Regions from separate parts of the Homo sapiens genome. Here region 1 is linked to region 2. Evidence: promoter capture Hi-C in human tissues and cell types (Jung and others, 2019). All regions are on one chromosome and are shown on one strand. Each heading gives the region's core, a stretch centred on a gene start or on the middle of the fragment in contact. The rest is flanking DNA. Distances are from core to core; before and after follow the strand shown.

The links. The method cuts DNA at HindIII sites, captures the fragments that hold promoters and counts their contacts. A contact is called where the count stands out against the background at its distance.
Region 1: a contact is called between a fragment that was not itself captured here and the fragment with the promoter of ACTRT2 in region 2, in 4 of the 25 tissues and cell types used here (hippocampus, mesendoderm cells, pancreas and 1 more).

What each region holds. Positions count from the first base shown.
Region 1 is chr1:2,965,370-2,970,857 of GRCh38, forward strand. No RefSeq gene overlaps it. Among named protein-coding and RNA genes, the nearest start is that of ACTRT2, 53 kb to the right of the region's middle. The HindIII fragment of the contact is 6,143 bases long and covers 1-4,764 here.
Region 2 is chr1:3,018,485-3,024,424 of GRCh38, forward strand. ACTRT2 (actin related protein T2) reads left to right here and starts at 2,983. Exons shown (of 1, transcript NM_080431.5): 1 at 2,983-4,419. The coding sequence starts at 3,203. The coding sequence ends at 4,336. RefSeq lists an enhancer at 5,865-5,940. The HindIII fragment of the contact is 18,700 bases long and covers 1-5,940 here.

The DNA of each region.
Region 1 (5,488 bases), core at 443-2,942, 54 kb before region 2:
CTATTCATCCATCCATCCATCCATCCACTCATCCATCCATCCAACCACCATCCATCCTTCTTATCATCTACTACTCATCTATCCATCCATTCATCCATTCATTCATCCACCCACCCACCCATCTTTCCACACATTCATTCAATGACTATTTCCCAAGTGGCCATTTGCTAAGTACTCTGTCTGTTCAGAGATATGGTGGTGAACAGACAAGTCTGTGCCTTTGTGGAGTCTACCGTCTTGTGGGAACAGGGAAAGCTTAATCTATCATTACAAACCATGAGGGAAAAAGTCAAGAAAATAAGTTGTCCTGGAGGTTGCAATGGGAAGAGGACTTTCTGAGAGGGGGAAGTTAAGCCAAGACCTGTAGTTGACAAGTAAAATGACATTTGAAGGGTGAAACTCCCAAGGCTGGACTAAGCTTGCCCCTGGGGTTGGGGCCTTGGAAAGGGCCACAGCCAGGATGGGCCCTGGAAAGCAGAGTGGAGTCTCATGTTCACAACACATCATGATAGTGCCTTGTGCTCGAAGTCTCCATGGAAGGACAGACCCAGCACCTCCAGGGAGTGCAGGGTGTTGGGAGATGCTCCTTGGGAGATTTTATGGATCGTCTGTGCTGGGTGGAACAGGGCACCTCAAGATTCATGTCCACTGGAGCCTGCGAATGTGACCTTATTTGGAAATTGCGTCTTTGTTGATGTGATCAAGTGAAGATGAGGTCACACTGGATGAGGGTGGATCCCAAACCTAATGACTGGTGTCCTTAAAAGAAGAGGAAAATTCAGACACACAGAGGAGACACAGAGGAGAGGCTCTGTGAAGAGGAGGCAGAAATTGGAGCCATGCGTCTACAAGTCAAGCATTGCTGGAGCCACAGAAGCTGGAAGAGGAGAAGCGTCCTCCCCTAAGGGCTCTGGAGGGACCACAGCCCTGCTCACACCTTGGTTGTGTACTTTTGGCCTCCAGAACTGTGAAAGAATAAAATTCTATTGTGTGGAGAAGTTTAGCGCTCCATTTATGCTAACTGTTAGGGTAGCCCAGGAGGCCAGCACTTCACCCCCAGCTGGGCCCACCTCTCTGTCTCGCAGCCGCAGGGCTCCTGGCTGGCACGATCCTTGCTGCATGCCCAGGACACAGCAGCTTCAGGGCAAGGCTGGCATTTTCGTTCACTGCCCATCCCACCTTAGGCCTGAACCACAGCTCTGGGGGGGAGCCCGGCACCTGACCTGGCACGCACAGTAGTCACTTTAGAATGTACAGCTGGTTACTTCATTTTTTGCAAAACAACCATGGCTCTCCCTCCAGCCCATTATCCATCTTGAGCCCTGTGGCTTCCACTCTCACAGCTCACAGCCAGGGAGGCCTCCAAGCCGGCCGCCACGCGTTCTGACCCAGCCAGGGAGGTCTCCAAGCTGGCTGCCACGCGTCCTGACCAGCTGGTGCAGCCCTGATGAGGGTGGGGTCTCCTTTATCGCCTATAAAAATGAGAAATCTCTAAACAAAGAAACTCCACCCACTTTGTAGCTGAGACTTGGGTAGAATTCAGTTTCCCACTCAATGGGAAATGATTTATAAGAGCTGTGGAGGCCAAAGAGGTTGGCCTGGAAAGCAGGCTAGACAAAATAATTTATCAGAAAATTCCCAGTGACCGTCTGTAATGGTTAGAATGCAGCGTGGTGAGGGCCTTTCCCAGCCGGGTCAGGCACTGGGGAGTTGGGGGGTGGGGTGCTGCCTTGGCAGCCGGTGCCTGGTCGTGGCTGGGTTCAGAGCCGAGCGGATGGGCAGACACACTGTGTCATTGTCACAGAGGTGCTGCTGCCTCTGCCGCCCAGAAGCATCTTCCCTGGGAGGACCTGGCGCTCCCAACCAAACACGTTCTGGGTGAAATTGGAGCTCATTGGTCCCACTTCTCAGGGCCCAGTGTACCGTGGGCTCTGGGAGGCAAGGAGCCCTGGAGGACGGTGAGAAGAATGCTGAGTTAACAAACCAAGCAAGTGGCCTTCCTCGTGGGGAGCCAGGGAAGCCTTGAGTGGCGCTTGGGGCAAGTCCAGCTGTATCCATGGGGCAGCGGGGCCCTCGGGTGCTGGACGCCCAGGGAGCCCCAGCCTCTCCCACCCAGGCTGTAACAGACACATGGCACGGGGGCTCGCACCATGCTCCCCAAGCGGTCGCACCCCCCACCAGCCGAGTGACTGAGGCTGGAGCACGGGACCTGCGTCCGGCCAGCGGCTGCACAGGGTGACTGTCTCTGGATATGGGAGCTGCAGCCTTGTTCTCGGGCCCTGTGCACTGACCCAGGGCATGGTCAGCTCAGTCTCCTGCCCTCTCCTGCCTAAAAGGAGCCCAGACATCCACTGAACTCAGTGGAAGAGCAAGGTCAAGTTACAGAGCCTCCCGAGAGTCCAGCCTGCTCTCCCATTTCGGGTGAAAGCAGTCCCAGCTACTCGGGAGGCTGAGGTGGGAGGATCACCTGAGCCTGGGGAGGTGGAGGCTGCAGTGAGCTGTGACTGTGTCACTGCACTCCAGCATGGAGGATGAAGTGAAATCTTGTCTCAAAAAATAAAAAAAGCTCAGTTCGGTTGAGTGCGGTTGGGTTTGAGCAGCCTGAAATCCCCAGAATCGGTGATTCCCTGAGCAGGGAGTGGCACAAGGTGAAGCATCCCTGGCCTTGGACGCATCAACACTGCATGGGGCGAGTGGACACTGGCCACACCCGTGGCACCCATGCAGGGCTGGTGGACACAGGAGGCTCCCAAACCCATGCTGCTACTGTTTCCAGGGCGGTGTGCCCACCTCATCACCGGAGTCAGTGAATATATCACTCGGGTCACACTCTGTCCTCTGAAATGAATGCTGATTTGGAAACCACTCCCCCAATAAGACGGGTGAAAGTTTCCATTTGGAAAAGAGGTTTTTTGTTTTTTTTTCTTGGCAGGAGCCACTTTCTCTGAGCACGAAGAGATGGCCGTGTGGTTCTTATCTTTGAACCCCATGTACTTAACGCTTATTAAAATCAATACCATCCATTAGCCAGCAACATTTCCATGTTTAATCATCTATTGATATACGGCCTGTGCTTTTATAGGACTAAACAAATTTCCGCTCTCTGTGCCCCTCTGCAGCCTGGGGGCCGGCGGGTGCGCGGCTGCGGGACGTAAATGTTTATTTACTGCCTGCTTCCTGATTGAGAACATACCTGGTCCGTGGCTTCAGATGGCTTTTACACGGGGGACTTACGGCCACTTCCTGTTCTCCAGACACACAACACTGTTTTTAAGGAGCGTAATGAATGCACGGTATTGTGGACGCAATCGCCGCCCTGGCCCAGCCCGAGCGAGGGCAGAGCCGGATCGCAGGGCTTGTTATTGACTTATTCATGGGCTGTTCTGGGGGGCAGGGTGCGCTTGGCCCAGCTGCGGAGCTGCCGACTCCTCTCTGCTGCACTCTCCCAGGCCTCGCCAGGCCCCAGTCTCGTGAGCGTTCATCTGGGAAAGCAGGGCAGGACCGAAGTGACCTCAGAGAAGCTGTGGGTGCCCCTTCTGCCTGCGTGTCCATGTTCCCGAGGCCCACCAGCCTCCTGCCTCCTTTCCACTCCCCTTCCCCTCCCCTGGGCTGTGGCTGTGATTCCTTTGAGCTGCTTTGCTGATCAAGGGGGCAGAGCCGCAACTGTTTACAGACAGAGCTTTAGAGCCCTGCACAGGGCTGGGTATGGGGAGCCTGAGACCACCCCTCTCTGCCCCTCCCAGGCATGGTGAAGAAGGGGCTCACGGGACCCTGCGGTCTGGGTGGCACCTGGGGAGGCTGCTGCGGTCCTGGCCTAGGGTGGCCGGTCTGGATGGATGGAGGAAGGTCTGTGGCTAGGGCCTGAGAACCAGAGGGACAGAGCCTCCCCAGCCACCAGTGCCTGCTTCACCCTGGGCCTTCCAGCTGCAAATCTTGCTTATCCGGAAGTTTCCTCTGGGGGGACTAGTTCCTGCCTTCCTCATCTTATACACACCATATCTGCTGGGAGAGTGTCCCTGGCAGGGCCAAGCAGGGACTCAGATGGCCGGGAAGGTTGCTTGGGGCTGGGGACTCAGCAGACACCTTGGGGAGGGGTGTGTGCCTCTCCAGAGTCCTGTGTCTCAACTTCAGAGAGAGCCACTCTTCCTGTGGGACACCTGGGCCTGGGCCTGGGCCTGGCCTGACGGGTCCCTTGACCGTAGGTGGTGCAACCCAGGTGACCCAGGCTGACTCCTGGGGCAGGGCTGTTGTCCCCTCAGCCACACTCACCATTAGGGGCTCAAGGCACCGAGCTGGGGGGAGTCCCAGGCCACAGCCAAGACACGGTTCCAAAGACTCTCAGGAATTTGGGGTGTCCCAGGGGCCTCCTGGGGGTGGGAGTGGAGTGAGGCACGGGATGGCCGTTTCGCGCCAACAGAATCAGCTTCGTCTCTGCCTTTTCTACTTTGGTTTAGTGGTTTAGTGGTTTGTGGGGAAAGAGCCCCGCTGCTAACATAAGGTGAAAGGCATCTGTCTGCCAAAATGAGGAATCCGAGGCCCAGAAAGAGGAGGCCCTGGCTGAGCTCGGTCGCCACAGCGGTGTGAACAGGTGCCCTGACTTTCAGTGCCTGGTGCCAGGCCCCCGCCCTCTGGCTGAGGGTGTCAGGGAGGGGCTCCGGCTGCAGAGACAGCCGTTATAATAGACGCCTCTCTGTGCACTGGGATGGCGGACTGGCCTGCCGGCGCACCACCGGCCACCCAGCGCAGGACACCAGGCCCTGTGAGCAGCAGCTGCTGTGGCCGTGGGTTAGACATGCGTCTGTGATCGGTGGCTTCATAAAACGCCTTCTAATGAAAGTAACACACAGCACAGGAGGGCGGCCCTGGGCGCGGGGCTGCGTCCCCGAGAAATGCTTGTTACTGTGGAATGAGGGACAGAGCAAATCCCCTGAATCGGGCAGAGCTGTCGTTAAATCCCTTAATGACGGCGGTGTTTTCTCTGGTGCGCCGAACAGTTCCTTATAAACCCCTTTGGCGTGGGAGGGGGGGTGATGGGGATGAGGGCAGGACAGAGCGGGGGCATCTGCAAATGGCCTTTCTGGGGGCTGAGACCTGGGGGCCCACTTTACCCTTCCCTGTCCTTGGCCCCTTCTCTGCAGTGGCTGGGCGGGCACCTGTGTTCTCCTGCCTGGAGTCTGGGCAGAAACGGGGCTGGCAGAGACGCAGCCTGCAGTCTTCAGACTGACCCTGTGGCCGGCCATTGGGTGACCTGGCCAAAGCGTGCTGAGCACTCGCCCTGTGCTGGGCGTGGGGCATGGGCCCGGGGACAATCCAGAGCCTCCTCTGGTGGCCCTCAACAGATGTCCATGGGGCTCAGTGTGAGGAAGGCTCAGAAAATACTCGAGGGCTGATAACAGCCGGGCCCTGGGTGGACATGGCTCCAATGCCCCACTTGGGAAGGGCTCGCCTGGAGTTTGGAGATCCAGTCTCTCCTGGGGCGTGGAGTTCC
Region 2 (5,940 bases), core at 1,733-4,232:
CCAAAACGGGGACTGGCAGGGGTCATGGAGGGACCGAGAAGAGCTGAAAATAGGTGGAAAGTCCCAGACCTAATGTGGAGGCTGGGGAAGCAGCCGGGCCGGGGAGGGCGGGGGCGGGGGCCTGTGTGTTTTTGCAGGACATGCACAAGGGTAAGAGGCTGTGCCCGGGGTGCTGTGACTGTGCCTTGTGACAGCAACAGGGGATGGAGGAACCTCAGAAGCCCCACAACACCCCACCGGGAGCTCAGCAGCCCAGGCTTAGCGGCGTCTGCCTCCTCCTCTGTCCTGCCTGCAAATGCCCAAGACCCCAGCCCGCCCAGGGCCACCTCAAAGCATCTGTGTGCCTGACCCAAGAGCCCTCCGCACCAGCATTGCCACTGCCTCCCACTGTGGCCACCGGCAGAGCCAAAATCTAGAAAGCATCGGAGCACGTTCCTCTCAGCTCAGCCCCGAGTATTGGGCGACACTGACGCACTTCCAGCCACACCTGAGAACCAAGGATGCAGACCCTCTGTGATGGCTGCAGGCTGGAACCCCAAGGCGCAGCAGCCAGCCAGGGAATGCTCTCCCCAAAATGTGAGACTCGAAACCTTAGCAATCCCCACAGGTTGGTGGTGGACCTGGACTGTGCAGAGCCGGGGTCTGGGAGACAACACAGCAGGCTTAGTCGTCCCAGCCTTGCGGGCCCTTCCCAGGCCAAGGCCATCTCTACAAGGTAGACAGGGCTTAGCCGGGGGCTGTGGGCAGAGAGGGCTCAGCCGGGGGGGCACGTACCATCCCTGAGCGGCACTCTCTCGCCCTCCTGGGTAAACCTGGTGCCCATCTGGGGCCATCTCTGGTAGCATCGGCTGATGTTGAGCCAGTGCTCAGCAGGGCATGTGACTGAGAGGGACCTTGCCCCTCTGCAGAGCCAGGAGAGAGCCTCCCAGATCCTGTCCCAGGGCTTCAAAGGGCCAGCCTTGTGGACAGCCACACCTCTGCCAGGACCCCAGGTTGTGCAGGTCAGCAGGGATGGGCCCACTTGTATTTCCCAGGACTGGCGCCTGTGGTCTCCTAGTTCAGCGAGGAGGGAACCCTTCCCGCGCAGGGTGGTCCTTCTGTTGTGAATGTGGCTGCATGGGACAGCCAGAAAGGCATTGGAGGATGAGTCACCTCGCAGCCTGGGACCTGCCTGGAAGATGACCTTCGAGGGGGGCACCATTTGCCCGTGCACGCTATCGAACAGGAGCGGGGTTGGGATGGCGCCTGCCCCTGGAAGATGGCGTTCAAGGGGGGCACCCTCTGCCCGTGCCTGCTATCGAACAGGAGCAGGGTCGGGATGGTGCCTGCCCCTGCCCCGGGACACTCTCCGTGTCCCCCAGCACAGGCCTCAGGTGACCTTCAGCAGGACCTGCGGGGTGACCTTGATGTGGGCAGGGAGGAGCTCCAGCGTCTGGGTCAACAGGTTTCGAAGGAGGCCTCAGGGCCCTAGGCCGTGCCCATGGGTCAGTGCCTCCGTCCACACCTACTGCCTCAGGGAGCCCGGGGTCTCTGAGACGACTGCAAGCAAGCTGTGTGGTGGCTGCCACAGTTTCCAGAGAAATGGAGATTTAAGAGCCACACCTGCCCTGGCACGCTTTTGACTCAGTTTCCCTCTGGGGGGGTCCCCTCTAGGAAAATCCTTCAATAATCAAGTTTTTGTTGACTACCACCCAGGGATTAGTGGGGCCCACAAAACCACGTGTCAACAAGACACATCTACACCACACATCAACAACGAGTGTACCGCGCGTGTCTACACCACCCATCTATCCCATGCATCTACACGGCACATCCATATGCGTCTGTACCTCGTGTCTACACCACATGTCTGTACCACGTGTCTAGACTGCCCATCTACAACATGTGTCTACACCACCATCGGATTAATGCCTGCTGGTGGGTCAGCAGGGCAGGCAGGACACACAGAGGGGGCCACCAGCAGGAGCTGAGGGGCTCCAGGAAGGGAGTGACCCCGGGAGGCGTCCTCTGGGAGAACTCTGGGGGGCCAAGCTGGGCTGGAGCATGATTGTGGATATGACAGGAGAGGTAGAATAAACCTCACATTCTCCAAGGCCACCTCCAACCTCCTTAGGAAAAAAGTGAAGCTGGTTCCCAGGTTGGATCCCCTCCCACTTTCTCCCCAAGCGGAAGACAAAGCGGGGGTCTGAGTGCCGGGCGTGCACTGTTGTGGGTGCCCTTGGCCTGGCCCGGTGCCTCCTTCCTGGTCATGCTCAGGCCTTGACCTTTAATGGCCTGGTCACCTCTGAGCATTGCTCTGTGGTTGTGGCCTGACTGTGTGGCAGCTCATAGACACAGAGAGGTGTCACAGGCTGCAATCCAGGCTACCCATGTGAAACCAGCAGGCCATATCTTCAGGGCTGTTGGGTTCCCAACTCTATGGCTGCTGGACTTTGTTGTGTGCTGGCACTTCAGAGTCTGCAGAGAGGAATGAGGGGTGCTGGCCTCAAGCCAGAGCAGAGATGTATTCCTGGACAAAGGGCCAGCAGCCCAGAGGGCTTTGAATAGGGTCTACCCAGTGGGACAGACAGCCAGGACTAATGGGATGGAGGGAGGAGAAATCCCTGAGAGCTTCCTGGGGGAATCACTATTCAAAAGCACATTCTAAGTGCCTGCTGGGACAGAACTGCTTACAACACCCCTCCGACCTGGTGCTTGGTTTTCCCCCTTAGCAAAGGGAAGTGTTGTCACCCCAGAAGTTGCAGCTCAGGGGCCAGAGAAGCTGGTTTTCTAGGGTGCACGCAGGCTGGGCTGCTTCTCTCCACTCTAAAGCTAAGTCTCTGCCTCAGCCCACAGGCTTGTCCAGCACCGCCCTAGGATGCACTTGTCTCTCTCTCTCTCTCTCACCTCACCCTGTGGGGGATGGGGGACTCAGAGCCCCACCCCCAGGGCCTCTGAGGCTCAGGACAATCGTTGCCTTGGCTAGATTGTTACCTAGGAGACAACCCCCTGGCCCCCTGGAAGAGGCCTCAGCAGGCCCAGGCCACCTGGAGGGAGAGCAGACCTGCGGCTGAGGATGCAGGGCTCCCGGGCACGGTGCTAGCCCTGCCTTGAGACACCCCGAGAGCTGTGGGAAGAGCTGTGGGATCCCCTATTGCATCACAAAGCGGCCCTGGAGGGCTGGTCTTTATTTTGATGAGGCTGAGAAGGGAAGGCTGCGGGCATGTTTAATCCGCACGCTTTAGACTCCCCGGCTGTGATTTTTGACAATGGCTCGGGGTTCTGCAAAGCGGGCCTGTCTGGGGAGTTTGGACCCCGGCACATGGTCAGCTCCATCGTGGGGCACCTGAAATTCCAGGCTCCCTCAGCAGAGGCCAACCAGAAGAAGTACTTTGTGGGGGAGGAGGCCCTGTACAAGCAGGAGGCCCTGCAGCTGCACTCCCCTTTCGAGCGTGGCCTGATCACAGGGTGGGATGACGTGGAGAGACTCTGGAAGCACCTCTTTGAGTGGGAGCTAGGCGTGAAACCCAGCGACCAGCCCCTGCTTGCAACGGAGCCCTCCCTGAACCCCAGGGAGAACCGTGAGAAGATGGCAGAAGTCATGTTCGAGAACTTCGGCGTGCCCGCTTTCTACCTGTCGGACCAGGCGGTGCTGGCTCTCTACGCCTCTGCCTGTGTCACGGGCCTGGTGGTGGACAGCGGGGATGCGGTCACCTGCACTGTCCCCATCTTTGAGGGTTACTCCCTGCCCCACGCAGTCACCAAGCTCCACGTGGCGGGCAGGGACATCACGGAGCTCCTCATGCAGCTGCTCCTGGCCAGCGGCCACACCTTCCCCTGCCAGCTGGACAAGGGTCTCGTGGACGACATCAAAAAGAAGCTGTGCTACGTGGCCTTGGAGCCCGAGAAGGAGCTTTCCCGGAGGCCGGAGGAGGTCCTGAGGGAGTACAAGCTGCCCGACGGGAACATCATCAGCCTCGGGGACCCGCTGCACCAGGCGCCCGAGGCCCTGTTCGTGCCCCAGCAGCTGGGCAGCCAGAGCCCCGGGCTCTCGAATATGGTCTCCAGCAGCATCACCAAGTGTGATACCGACATCCAGAAGATCCTCTTTGGGGAGATTGTGCTGTCGGGGGGCACTACCCTGTTCCACGGGCTGGATGACCGGCTTCTCAAGGAGCTGGAGCAGCTGGCCTCCAAGGACACCCCCATCAAGATCACGGCTCCCCCCGACCGGTGGTTCTCCACCTGGATTGGAGCCTCCATCGTCACCTCTCTGAGTAGCTTCAAGCAGATGTGGGTCACCGCCGCAGACTTCAAGGAGTTTGGGACCTCCGTGGTGCAGAGAAGATGCTTCTGAAGGCCGCTTCTCGTTGGGTACCGTGGGGGGTGAACCCTAGCCCCAGCTTTGGGAGGATGTTCAATAAAGGACCAATGCCGGAACACCTGGCCACCTCGGCTCAGTTCCTTCTTGGGGGCGGCAGAGTCATTTCTGGCCCTGACAGTGAATCTGTGAAGTGTCTTGGTCCACACCCGCTCCCCTTCGCTTCCTCCCAAGAAAGCCTGGGCTGAGGCCAGGCTGTGTCCATCTGCAGTTTGTATGAAAGTAGGGCCCTGGGCCTCAGGTGAATAGGGCGCTGGAGTCCGCATTCTAAACAAGGGTCTTAGGTGGGCTGAGAGAGTCGGCAGGGATGGTGGGGACTAGCGCGTGCACCAGGTTCTGACGGCTCAGCAAGAAACCCCTCCCTGTGTGGGCCCTACCTAGCATGCCAGGGCCGGGGCTCTGCTTGTGTGAGGCCGGGCGGCTGAACAGGGTGGAGCTGCCGCTCTCAGCAGATAGGAACAGACGGGAACAGAAGTCACCGTTTGTTTAGGGCCCTCTAAACTCAGGGGTCCTGCTCCCAAAGGAAGTACAAAGAATCAACACTTCTGCTTAGCAAGTGTGATTCTTCTGTTTGTTTTTACTTTCAGTGATGTTTATAGCATCATTGTTTGGGGGCAGAATGCTGGAAACAAAGTTAATGGCCATCACCAATGTTAACGGTTGAGTAAATTATGCATGGAGGGAATTTTTCCACATTGATGTGGTGGAATTAACCCAAAATATTATTGGGAGAGAAGTGGAAAATACAGATAACTCTTTACGCCATGGTCCTTCCCTTGGTTTTTTGGAAAAGAAAACAGCGCCCCTTCCCCATGTCTTTGCCTATGTCCGCTGCTTCGTGTGGACCCATACCTGTGTTCTATGTGGTTACCAAGTGCATGCACTGTGGGTTCCAGCATGTCGCCAAGGGAAGAGGGAGGGAGACGCAATGCAGGCGGAAAGAAGAAAGGAGAAAAAAGTACTCAGGAAATTCAGCCTGAATGAAATAAACCCATTTACCTGAAATGCGTGTGTCTTTCAATCTTCACAAAGTGCATCTTTTTCCACCATTTCACTTTCAACCGACCTATGCTGTTGGAAGTGAGCATGGGGCTGGTGTGAAGACGGCGTATAGCTGGGTCGTTTTCTTATCCACCCTACCAATCTCTGCCTTTCAGTTGGTGTATTTAGTCCATTTACCTGGTAACTCATTGATACACGGAATCTCAAGTCTGCCATCTGATCACTCTCTGCTGTGTCTTCTGCTTCTCATTCCTGTTTCTCTTTTCTTACCTCCCTCTGGGTTACTGGAACATGTTTCAGGATTGTGTCTTGATTTATTTAGCGTGTTTAGAGTACCTCGTTTTTGTAGGTTTCTTAGTGGTCACCCTGGGTATTACGCCGTATATGCCGGGATGTATATGATGTCACAAGCTACGGGCATTGACATGGTACCATTAGAGGGAAACGTGAAACCTTCTTCTGTCCGGGACCCTTCCCCCTCACCTCTAAAACACAGTTGTCTTGTCTGCTGTGTGTGCACTGAATGCAACATCAGGGGGGCTGAGATTTTTCCTTCAACCATCAAATATGATTTAAGA